Regions from separate parts of the Homo sapiens genome. Here all the other regions are linked to region 3. Evidence: promoter capture Hi-C in 16 types of primary human blood cells and fetal thymus (Javierre and others, 2016). All regions are on one chromosome and are shown on one strand. The core of a region is centred on a gene start or on the middle of the fragment in contact, and the rest is flanking DNA. Distances in the headings are between cores, read along the strand shown.

Region 1 (4,265 bases), core at 176-2,675, 260 kb before region 3:
AGGCACGGTGGCTCATGCTTGTAATCCCAGCACTTTGGGAGGCCGAGGCGGGTGGATCACTTGAAGTCAGGAGTTTGAGACCAGCCTGGCCAACACGGTGAAACCCTGTCTCTATACAAATACAAAAATTAGCCGGGCATGGTGGTATGTGCCTGTAATCTCCGCTGCTCAGGAGGCTGAGGCACGAGAATCACTTGAACCTGGGAGGCAGAAGTTGCAATGAGCCAAGATTGCACCACTGCACTCCAGTCTGGGCGACAGAGACTCCGTCTCAAAAATAAATAAATAAATAAATAAAAATAACAAGGGGAAGGAATAATTTGGAAGTTCTCATAAAAGATCCTTTATTGAATTAGCACCCTATTTTGGGGTAGTAGTGGGGAAAAGGTAGCAAAGATGAGAAAGACAGACACCCTTTGTATTTTGCATTAGTTCCAGCCTCTATTTTACCAGATTTTTTTTTGTTTTTGAAACAGTCTCGCTCCTTCGCCTAGGATAAAATGCACTGGCGTGATTTTGGCTCACTGCAACCTCCGCCTCATGAGTTCAAGCGAGTCTCCTGCCTCAGCTTCCCAAGTAGCTGGGATTACAGGCATGTGCCACCATGCCCGGCTAATCTTTGTTGTTGTTGTTGTTGTTTTGTTTTTTTGAGACGGATTTTCACTCTAGTCACCCAGGCTGGAGTGCAATGGCGCAATCTTGGCTCACTGCAACCTCCATCTCCTGGGTTCAAGTAGTTCTCCTACCTCAGCCTCCTGAGTAGCTGGAATTATAGGCATGTGCCACCACGCCCAGCTAATTTTTTGTATTTTTAGTAGAGACGGGGATTTCACCTTGTTGGCCAGGCTGGTCTTGAACTCCTGGCCTCAAGTGATCCGCCTGCCTTGGCCTCCCAAATGCTGGGATTACAGGTGTGACCCACCATGCCCAGCCTATTTTACCAGATTTTGATTTTTTTTTTTTTTTGGAGATGGAGTTTTGCTCTTGTCGCCCAGGGTGGAGTGCAGTGGCGCAATCTCGGCTCACTACAACCTCTGCCCCCTGGGTTCAAGTGATTCTCCTGCCTTAGCCTCCCGAGTAGCTGGGATTACAGGCGCCTGCCACCACGCCTGGCTAATTTTTTGTATTTTTAGTAGAGACAGGATTTCGCCATGTTGGGCAGGCTGGTCTCGAACTCCTGACCTCAGGTGATCCGCCCATCTTGGCCTCCCAAAGTGGTGGGCCACTGGGACCGGCCTCTGTTTTTATAAAGGGTTTCCATTTCTGGGGAAAAGAATGGGACTAAGAGGGCCAGCTCCATAATCAGGTCTTATATCTCTTTTCAAAAGCCTTACCGGCCCGGCGTGGTGACTCACGCCTGTAATCCCAGCACTTTGGGAGGCCGAGGCAGGCAGATCACCTGAGGTCAGGAGTTTGAGACCAACCTGGCCAACATGATGGTGAAACCCCCTCTCCACTAAAAATACAAAAATTAGACAGGTGCCACGGTGTGCACCTGTAATCCCAGTTACTCGGGAGGCTGAGGCATGAGAATCGCTCGAACCTGGGAGACAGAGGTTGCAGTAAGCCAAGATTGCGCCACTGCACTCCAGCCTGGGTAACAGAGCAAGACTCCATCTAAAAAAAAAAAAACCCTTACCAAACATTCAATCTCCTATTACCCCAAGGCACTCACCTCCAATGGTGCTCTCCTGGTACTCATGGAACTGCCCTTTGACAAAACGTAATACCAGGCTTGACTTTCCCACTGCAGATTCTCCCAGCAGGACCAATTTGAACTGGCAAATTTTGCTGGCCTGGGGTTGCCCATTGGGCCTAGCTGTGCTTCTGCTAGTCATGGCCAGATTATCAGAATGGGAAAGGGTGGAGGGAGGGGGATACTGTAAAGGGGGGAGGGGGAAGGGGAGGGGATTTCCAGGCTTCAACACTCCTGCAAGAAAAAAAAGTGAATAAAATTAAACATACGTCCATTGAAGCTGCAATCGCTTTTCAGAGAAGGATAGAACCTCTTCATCTCCTTGCTTCTATGAGGACTTAGCTCTGAGAAGGTCCCAGGCAGCTGATCCTCAGTGGTAAGAGTTGGGAAGAGCAAAATAAGAACTGCTTCTGGAGTCTGCCCTACCACATAATCTCTAACTGCCAAGGGAGCCGAAATAGAGAGACTGAAAACTGAGAGTTTTTAATTCCCCAGTAATTCCCCACCAGGTCTTCAAAGTTTTTTGTTTGAGTCACACAAAGTGATCAACCTTTAGCTGGCCTGAAGAATATCCAGATCCACCCACCGGTACCCTAGATCCCCAGTATCTCCTTGGCATCCTGGTGCTGTGCTCTTCTTTTCCTTTTCTTCTTTTTTTTTGAGACGTCACTCTTGTTGCCCAGGCTGGAGTGCAATGGCACAATCTTGGCTCACCACAACCTCTGCCTCCCGGGTTCAAGCAATTCTCCCACCTCAGTCTCCCGAGTAGCTGGGATTACAGGCATGCACCACCACGCCTGGCTAATTTTGTATTTTTAGTAGAGACGGAGTTTCTCCATGTTGGTCAGACTAGTCTAAGAAGTCCTGACCTCAGGTGATCTGCCCGCCTTGGCCTTCCAAAGTGCTGATATTACAGGCATGAGCCACCGTGCCTGGCCTTCTTTTCATTTTTCCTTAGCTCTTTGTCAAAATGAGAGATTCACTCTAGGGGTGTGGGATAAGAGTCACCACTCCTAAGGGCAGAAGGGTAGTTGCTGCTGTATCCTTTATATATGACCGGTCTCCCTGATAAGACATTTCTAAAGATCTAACCAGGGTCCCATTGCCACAAAATCTATCCTTTCTCATTTTTGGTTGAAGGTAAAGAGAGAAATACAACCAACAGATCACATTCATTATCAACTCTTTGTTTCATTAACAACTCTTTTTTCACTTTGTTTCTGCCATCTTTCCAAATCTGAAAGTCTATCAAGAATCAGTAAGCTTGACCTACTCTCAACTTGCAGCTGTCTTGCTGGTGCCTAGGGATTAGATTACCCTCCACACCAAAGGGGCCTAACAGCTGTAGCCCTCCAAATTAGAGGCAGAGAAAGGTATACCTTCTAAAGACATGCAGAAGTCTCCAGAGGATGGTATAGGGCGTTAAGTCTGCAAGCAATCAGTATTTGATGAAAGAATACACTGAATCAGCTCCTCTATCTTCTAAGAGGGCTAAGAAAGCTGCTGGTGGGGCAGGGAACAGAGAGAAGAGTTGGGACTTTGAGATTCTAATCGTCTAAATCTGAATACATTTCATCATCCTGACTCTGAGCGGAAAGGAACTATGAAATTCAAAGGGAAGTTAGCATAGGCAGAGCATGCAAAAACCTCTCTCCCAAACCTAAGCATTGCTTGAGAGTTGTACTTTGCTTGTTCAAATTACTCTTTCGCTTTTCCAAAGCAGATCCTAGTGACTTCACAGACATCATACTCTATGGCATATGTGGGGAAACATCATTATTTTGTCACCACAATTAGTGGGACTGGAGTTAAACTGGGGTTAAAAATTTTCAGTAACCCCACTTACTAGATCGTAAAGACAGAAAATCATACAGGAGGCAATTCAGAGGAATAAAGGCTCTGGAGTCCAATTCTCCACGTTTGTTTTTCAGCTCTACTTACTAGCTATGAACCTTGAGCAAGTCACTAAATATATGTGTGCATTCATTTCCTCATCTGTAAAATGAGATAATAGCCTTATAAGCACCTACTTCATAAGGGTGTTGTAAGGATTAAATGAGATAATGCATATAAATAACTAAAGTATTTTAAGTATTTGATAGATACTAAGTGCTAAATAAATATTAAGCTACTAATCATTACTAATATGATATAAAGAGAATTTCTCTACCTCTCTAAGCCTTACCTTCTACCTTTGTAAAATGGAAAAAATACCATCCTCATAGCTACAAATAATAAGTGAAAGATGTGTTTAGCATAGTGCTAATAGCTATTAAAATATATCTCAATATTAGTTGTTATCAATATATTCCTAAAAAGCAGCCACAGCCTGGGTGCAGTAGCTCATACCTATAATCCCAGCACTTTGGGAGGCTGAGGTGGATCACCTGAGGTCAGAAGTTCGAGCCCTGCCTGGCCAACATGGTGAAACCCCGTCTCCACTAAAAATACAAAAAAAATTAGCTGGGTGTGGTGGTGCATACCTGTAATCCCAGCTACTCCAGAGGCTGAGGCAGGAGAATCGCTTAAACCCAGAAGGTAGAGGGTGCACTGAGCTGATGCGCCACTG
Region 2 (4,007 bases), core at 931-3,430, 390 kb before region 3:
TCTAGAAATCCCTTTTTACTTCCTGTGTAGCAAACAGGATCTTCCTCCACTGGGCAGCCCTTCAAATATTTGAAGACTTCTATTTGAAGCTTTCTCTTGCCAGCCTTTTTTTTCTAGCAACACACTGGTTTGTCAATGGCCCTCTTTAAAAATTACATTTAGAACAACACACTACTAAGTGGTTACACTTAGGCAGAACATAGAACTGCTGTATTTGTAATCTATTACCAAGGTTCTACTACCCTTATGGAGCTCCTAGAAAGATGCCTAGAACATAGCAGGCTCTTAATAAATATTTATAAATGGACATCTTGAGGGCTAAGATTCTATTTTTTTGCAGCCAACTGGAAGTCCCAGTTTGTTCTCATGTGAATTATTGCTAATATAAATCTCTAACATTGTTCCTCAAACTAGTTCAAGATCTAAGCAATTTTTTAGTGTGAGAGTGCTCCAGTGTTTTAGTCAATTCAAGTTACAGACACTTTGAATATTATTTAGCTCTTCCTGTGTTACTGTTGATAAATGGGTTTTTTACATGTTTACCCGAGTTGGGTTTTTTCTTTTTACAATAAAACATAGCCCTTGGGCTTATCACTAGAGAACAGAGATTTCTCTAACATAAATGCGCTAACCAACACTAAGTACAAGTGTTCAGTTTGATTCTACCAAATGCTACTATTTTTTTCTCATTATTTTTTAACCAGAGCCATTTGCATGGAAAAAATGCTACGATTAACTGACCCGTAATTTTCCTCTTATCTGTGATGACTTAGCAGGTGAGAGAGAGGAAAGTAGCTCCTGTAATCTGGGAACTGGCCTGACACAGCCAGGCTTCAGAGCTGTTAGGGCTGACCTGGTGCTCACAGGTAGCCAATGAGTTCTCTTGGACACAAACAATCTCACAAAACACCAGCATCAGACAAGGTCACTCAGTGACTGCGATGAAGTGAGACAAAAAACAAAATCACTACACAATTTTGTTTAAGCACAAAACAAGGTCAGTGTGCAAACCACAAAACAGCAAACATCCCCTTTCCCAGCTAGTGAGTGACTTCATCATCGACTGTGCTTAGGTTCACTTGTCTGCCCTTCTTCTAGACAAGCTACCCAATTATCCTGGATTCCCTTAACAGCACCCAATCCAAAAGAACACCCACTTTCTTGAATCTTCCCCAAAATCACTTAACCAAAGTCTAAGTTCTCTAAGTCGTTCCTAACACCCTCATGCTGAGACACACCACGTTATCCCCAATGGTGAGCCCTCCCCCTCACTGCAATGAGCATTAAACCCAACTTGCTCAATTACCAGGTGTATTCTTGGTGGTCTTCAGCTGGAGTAAATACATACAAGACATACAATGTCTAAAATTTCCCAAATCTACCTCTTTGGAGATAACCTGGCAAGGAGGAAATAAAGTCAGTCAGGATTTGACTGAGAATTCATGTTGGTATCTATGGTTACATTCTTCTCTAAATGCTCTTAAACCATCTCTTTTAATAGTCTAGAATTGCCGGGCACGGTGGTTCATGCCTGTAATCCCAGCACTTTGGGAGGCTGAGGCGGGCGGATCACGAGAGATAGAGACCATTCTGGCCAACACGATGAAACCCCGTCTCTACTAAAAATAAAAAAATTAGCCGGGCGTGGTGGCGGGCGCCTGTAGTCTCAGCTACTCGGGAGGCTGACGCAAGAGAATCGCTTGAACCCAGGAGGCGCAGGTTACAGTGAACCGAGATTGCGCCACTGCACTCCGGTCTGGTGACTGGGCAAGACTCCATCTCAAAAAAAAAAAAAAAAATTGTGTCCCAAAAAACATTAAGCTTATCAATGTGTTGTTTCTAAAATCCACAATGTTAGCCCACTTTTAGTCTTTAGGCTTTTTTTTTTAATGACTGGCCTTGACCTAGCCCACCATCTCCAATCCCAGATGTGACCTGAGTGATCAACCAGACAAGAAAGCAAGAGGTAGCAGGAGACATGATGAGGGGGAACACAATCCAGGATCACTCTCTACCCCCAAATCTACTGTCCCATTAGACTAGACACCTGAGTTGTTTTCCCTACATCAGCCGTGAGCTGAGGAGGAACTGAGGTTTGACTATTGGGGCCCCTGGCCTTACTGACTTAAGTAGATTTAAAACTTCTGGTCCTATGTGGAGACAGAGGAAAGGGATGGACCCTGAGGCTTGTGTCCCTAGAAGGACTCTCTTTTCCCAGACCTCCCAAGCCTTGAAGGCTTCAGGAACTGGCCACTGAAGGGGTGGGGTAGGAGGGACATTAACTGCCATCAACTGAGCGGCAACTGCCATCAACTCAATGGCCATCAACTCCACCTGTCCTGCTCTGTTTGAATAAGGATCTGTCAACTATGTAACATCCCATCCGCATTTCAGCAAATACACTCTCCTTACTGCCTGCCCTGCTAAATGACCCTAGGAGCCCTGGTTACTGAGGCAACCTGGGAATAGCACATACAGACAGAGACCAGAAACAGATGGGACTATTTTTAAAACTAGACTGGGTGGCTCCAAAGCTTTTACCCCATAAAGTGCCTTCCCCAAAGCCCCATTTGGTCTTGTTCTGGGTCCCTACCCTTCTTCACTGGCTTCTATCCATCTTACCAAAGCTATGTGAGGCTGGGGTCTTTATCCCATTTTGGCATGAGATCTATTTACTGCTCCCATCTTCCACACAGAATAGCTAAGCAAGTTTTCACTGCCTCCATTTGTTAAAAATAATTGTTCTTTTATTTCTTTGGAAAGTAGTGGGCCCTGCCCTATGGATTTTCAGGTCAAACTAGGGTAATGAATGCTCCCCTAGTCTTTGGGCTGGAGCACTATGGTCCCAGCTTTCCCAGGGCCCAGAAGCAATTCCTGTATTGTCCAACCCAAGCAACTAGGACCCAAATTGTCTGAAGGCTCCTATCAGGCCTTCTCTCCTGACCACCCACTTCCCAATCTTTCCTGGCTTTCCCTCTGGGCAGGGTATTTTTTTCTTCTAAAACCAGTGCTGGAACCTGTGCTGTGCAGAAGAGAGGACAAGACGAGGGATGTTCCCAAATTCCCATAAGAGGACACAGCCCCTCAGTCAGTCCTTCCTCTCTGCTGGCTTCAGTCTGCACTCCTCTGCAAGCCCCCACTGTGAGGCTTGAAGATGGACAAGAGGACCCTCATAAAAGGGAGGTGAGAGAAAACACACCATCCCAACCCCTCCTCAGGACATACTCCTTGTAGTCTCTTGTCCTAGTTCTCAAGGGAGCCCTTCAGACAGGGATGGGGAAGGCTAGGTGAGTGGGCAAGGGCCCCCTGACCCCAGCCCTGCGAGGCTATACCAGGGGAGTGTCCATTAGCCCCATCAGTGTGGCATGGCCGTGATGCGCATGCTCTGGGAAGCGATAGGGTAAGTCACCATGGGAGTGGTGGTGTGGCTCATTGTGATTCCTGCCAAGGGTTGGGCCATCGATACAGCCACAGGGGCCACAGGAGCCACAGATACAGCCACAGGAGCCATGGAGACAGGTGGAGGTGCCATTCCCTGGGCAATTGTTTGAGCCAGGGCAGCTGACAGTGGCGTGATCTCTGGGGTCAAGTGTGGGGGTGGGGGTGGTGGAGCAGCAGGAGGTGCAGCATTAGTTGGGGGAGCAGCTGGAGCTCCAGCAGGGGCCACCAGTTCTTGCTGGGACACTGGACGAGGCTGTAGAGCCTGGCTGCTGAGAGTAGTGTGAGTCTGGGCAATGCCATGGTTAAAAGTGGCAACAGTGCCCACAGTGGGGGCCAGAGTCTGCTCAGTCGCTGGTGCAGTGGAGCTCAGGGTTATGACCTTGGCCTGATTGCGGAACTGAGCATTTTGTTCCAGTAGTACCTCATTGGTGGCCAGCAGGTTGCTGACCTGCTTCTTTAACTCCTCTACCCGCTTCCTGAGCATGGCATTCTCCTCCTCTAGCAGTCTGCACTCCACCCCTCGCGGTGGAGCCAAACTATATTCATATGACTCAAAATGAGGGCCA
Region 3 (3,932 bases), core at 1,433-3,932:
TACTTTTTTTTTTTGAGACAGAGTTTTGCCGGGCACAGTGGCTCACGCCTGTAATCCCAGCACTTTGGAAGGCTGAGGGGGCGGATCACGAGGTCAATAGATGGAGACCATCCTGGCCAATATGGTGAAACCCCATCTCTACTAAAAACACAAAAATTAGCTGGGCGTAGTGGTGCGTGCCTGTAGTCCCAGCTACTTGGGAGGCTGAGGCAGGAGAATCACTTGAACACGGGAGGCGGAGGTTGCAGTGAGCCAAGATGGCACCACTGCACTCCACCCTGGTGACAGAGCGAGACTCCGTCTCAAAAAAAAAAAAAAAAAAAAGAGAGACGGAGTTTCACTCTTGTTGCCCAGGATGGCATGCAGCAACACGATCTCTGCTCACTGCAACCTCTGCCTCCTGGGTTCAAGTGATTCTCCTGCCTCAGCCTCCTGAGTAGCTGGGACTACAGGCACACATCATTGTGCCCAGCTACTTTTTGTATTTTTAGTAGAGACGGGGTTTCACCGTGTTGGCCAGGCTGGTCTCGAACTCCTGACCTCAGGTGATCCACCTGCCTAGGCCTCCCAAAATGCTGGGATTACAGGTGTGGTGAGCCACTGCGCCTAGCCCCTCCTCTTACTTTGGGGAACATCCTACTCTGTCTATGGAGCAGCTGTTGTTTCACCACTTTACTTTCTTAATAAACTTGCTTATACTTTGCACTGCGACTCGCCCTGAATCTTTCTTGCATGAGATCCAAGAACCCTCTCTTGTGGTCTGGATTGGGACCCCTTTCCTGTAACAAATGCATTGGCTGATAGGAGAATAAAGAAAAAAAAAGAGGAAAAACTAGAGTAACTTCTCTACATAATCATATTATATGACCGTTTTGTTAACCATGATAACAGTTAACAAAATAATTTTCTTATGTCTAATTCTCAGTCCATGTCTGTATGTCCCAAAATGTCTTTCACAGCTGGTTTGTTCAACCATTCAATGAAGGACCAAACATTGCAGTTGGTTGTTATGTATCTAGTCTCTCAATCTTGATCTTCAGACCACCTTCAGCCCATCTCACCACATCCGTCCCAAGCCCTTTGAGCCAGCCAACCCCAACCTGCCATGTACTTTACAAAATGCTCCTTTTTTTTCCACAGTCGACTGCTTCTCTGTCCCTGGAGCTCTCCCCTTTATTCTCCAAGGTCACCTTGAGCACATCCTTCTGCTCCGTGAAATCCATTCTCCTCTCCCTTTCCCTCCCTCTGAGCTTAACCAGCTGCCACCGCAGGCTTCTGCCTTTCTTCACAGTGTGGCCAGAACTCGGTTCTGCCTGCTAGCAGAGGGCAGGGCCGCTGTCTTCCTCTCCTTGCAGCCCCCAAGCCTAGCACATGCCTGGCATCTAGTGGCAGCACAATAAGGAACCTGATGAATACTCCTTTCTTCTGCTCTCCGCTCCTCCTCCACAGCCTGCCAGCCATGGTCAGGAAGAGCAAGATCCGGAATGGGCTTGGTGTGTCCCGCGGGAAGGCCGTGATCCTGGAAGATGCTTCTCAGCCCAGCCCGGATCTCCTTCCTTTAGCTCTAGAGACTTCTTTCATTCTTTGTGTACACACATACACTAAGACTCAGGAAGTGGTTCTTGAGGCAGGACCTTAAGAGCCCAAGGAGTGGGGCCGAGGCTGGAGGTGTGGGGGTGTGACGGCCGGTCCTACTCTCCGGCCTGTTCAGATCAGCTCCTTCTGGGGACCACCCCTGGCACACAAGGGAGGGAGGCAGCTTGATCCCCCTAGCCCGCTTCCAGCCCTCACCTGGCTTTGTCTTCTGGGATAAGACGGGGAAATCCAGAGGATGTAAGCCTCTCCTGCCTTCGTGTCTTCCCCCAAGCCCTCGCTATCACAGACGGATGCAGGAGCTGTCTGGGAGGCTGGAAGCACAGACCTTGTCAATCCTCCCCCAGAGGGCGGGACCCGACGCGGACGTGTCTTGATTGACTGGGTAGCGTGGCTTCGGGGAAGGGCTTCCTCCCCTTTTCTCAGACTAGGATCCCTGGAAAATGGAGAAGCTGTGCTAATAGAGGGGGGCCAGAAATCCCCACTCTAGAATGCTGTAGAATGTTGGGAGACACCCAGGATGTGAGCCAGGGACTTTCTGGAAGTGTTTGTTCTGGCCCCACCCGACCCCAGGCAGTCCCCAGCTGTCTGCACAGTCGGATGGGGAGGGGGCTTGCACAGAGTTGGAGCCAGAGGAGAGAGCTGGCTCATCCCCTACGGTAGGATGGGGAAACCTCACAGACCACATTGTCACCCGGCCTCAGCTCTCCGCCCCGGCGCTCAGAGGGTAACTCTCACCCACCTCGTCCGCTTCTCTGAACCAGAGTGACCCAGGCTGCGCTCCGCCCCGCTCTCCTACCCCGAGTTGGCACGGAGGTATAGCGCCAGAGGGGGGCCCCAGGCGCCCCGAGGTCTTGCCCTTGCGGCTTTCCCTTTGCGGGGGTGGGCGCCTTCTTCCGGGTAGGGGCCACGTGGCCCTGGCCGGGCGGGGGGCTCGGCCCACCCCGCGCCGGGCCCAGTGACTCAGGCCGCAGCTGTTACCGCGTCACATGAGGGAGGCCGGCGGCCACTCGGCGGGGGAGGGGACCGTGGCTGGAGCCCGGGGCGGGGCCGCGCGGCAGGCGGGGCGGGAGCCGGGGGGCGCAGCTAGAGAGCCCCGGAGCCGCGGCGGGAGAGGAACGCGCAGCCAGCCTTGGGAAGCCCAGGTGAGGCCGCGGGGACCCGGCGGACTTCGGCGCGGGCTGGGAGAGACCACCCGCAGTCCCTTCCTCCAGGGCTCGCCCCAGGCCCGCGGAGACTCGTCCGGCGCTCTCCAGCCGCCCTGGAGCAACTTTGCTTCGAAGTTCCCTGGGCCCGGGCAGGGTGTGGCGGGGGTGCTGGCTGCACTTTTTTTTTTTTTGGTGGGCGGGGAGGTCAGAGCCCAGGGGAAAGGGGCTGGGGCGGGGGTCGGGGTTGGGCTGAAGACCGTTTCTCCAGGCTGGGTGTTGGGTGGGGAAAGGGTGTTTGACGCCCGGAGACTGGCGGGCCGAGGGTCGGCGTCAGGCTCAAGCCCCTGCCGGCGCCCTTGGATCTGTCCTGGGCCCCAGAGGCGGCGGGGCGGGGTCCGGGCTTCGCGGCCGTCGCCCCCACCCCTCTCCTGCGGGTAAAGAGGGGGCTGGGAGACGTGGATCCGACCGCGGGTTTCCGGGTGGGAGGGGCCGGGAATCGGGGCCGTGAAGGGAAGCCCTCGAGGGCCGGCCGGGAGCCCGGAAACCGAGGTCCCCCTTCGGCCAGTTTTAATCCCCCCGCCCTCCCCTCTGCCCCAGGCCCGGCAGCCATGGCGGTGGAAGGAGGAATGAAATGTGTGAAGTTCTTGCTCTACGTCCTCCTGCTGGCCTTTTGCGTGAGTGGCGAGGGGTCCTGGGGGGCGCGCCGGCAGGGTGCGGGGAGACCTGGCTCCACAGTGGTGAGGGCTGAGGGAATGAGAATTAAGGCAGCTGGAGACCAGATGTGGAAAGAAAGCCAGGGAAAGACAGCGCAGCCACTCCCTCCTCCAGTTTTCCTGGACACCTGAGGCTTGTTTCCACCGAGAATGGCCATCCTGGGTGTGCAGCAACCCCTACCCCCATCCCTCCTGGCCCTTCCTGTCTGGTGACCCAACCACTTGTGATATGGGGCAGTGGGGCAACCAGCCAACCGCCTGATGCTATCGCCATGGGGCTTCCCTTCGCTCTCCCTTCTCCCCTCTCTCCCTCCCCAACCCTCTCATCCCTGTCCAGCCCCTCTCCCCCTTTCCCTCCTCCCAGCGCTTGGGGGTGAGGAAGGGCTCTGCCCACTTCAATTTGCTCCTGCCCTGGGCTCCTGGCTTGAGAGGCTACTGTTTGTCTAGGGAGGGACACATCACTCTTGCTCCCTTTTCC

Evidence for each region. The method cuts DNA at HindIII sites, captures the fragments that hold promoters and counts their contacts. A CHiCAGO score of 5 or more calls a contact.
Region 1: a fragment that was not itself captured here is called in contact with the fragment with the promoter of CD63 in region 3 in 1 of 17 cell types (naive CD4 T cells); the score reaches 5.1 in naive CD4 T cells.
Region 2: a fragment that was not itself captured here is called in contact with the fragment with the promoter of CD63 in region 3 in 1 of 17 cell types (fetal thymus); the score reaches 5.5 in fetal thymus.

Annotation. Positions count from the first base shown.
Region 1 is chr12:55,984,534-55,988,798 of GRCh38, reverse strand. It overlaps RAB5B (RAB5B, member RAS oncogene family), which reads right to left. Exons shown (of 6, transcript NM_002868.4): 2 at 1,676-1,930. The coding sequence starts at 1,838. Among named protein-coding and RNA genes, the nearest start is that of SUOX, 11 kb to the left of the region's middle. The HindIII fragment of the contact is 3,073 bases long and covers 1-2,961 here.
Region 2 is chr12:56,121,216-56,125,222 of GRCh38, reverse strand. It overlaps ZC3H10 (zinc finger CCCH-type containing 10), which reads right to left. Exons shown (of 3, transcript NM_032786.3): 3 at 1-4,007. The coding sequence ends at 3,356. Among named protein-coding and RNA genes, the nearest start is that of ZC3H10, 5.0 kb to the right of the region's middle. RefSeq lists an enhancer at 3,071-4,007. The HindIII fragment of the contact is 713 bases long and covers 1,824-2,536 here.
Region 3 is chr12:55,727,759-55,731,690 of GRCh38, reverse strand. CD63 (CD63 molecule) reads left to right here and starts at 2,682. Exons shown (of 8, transcript NM_001780.6): 1 at 2,682-2,738; 2 at 3,339-3,415. The coding sequence starts at 3,350. It overlaps CD63-AS1 (CD63 antisense RNA 1), which reads right to left and starts at 2,597. Exons shown (of 2, transcript NR_183514.1): 1 at 2,336-2,597; 2 at 839-2,029. RefSeq lists silencers at 2,336-2,715, 2,986-3,285 and an enhancer at 2,250-2,856. The HindIII fragment of the contact is 20,987 bases long and covers 1-3,932 here.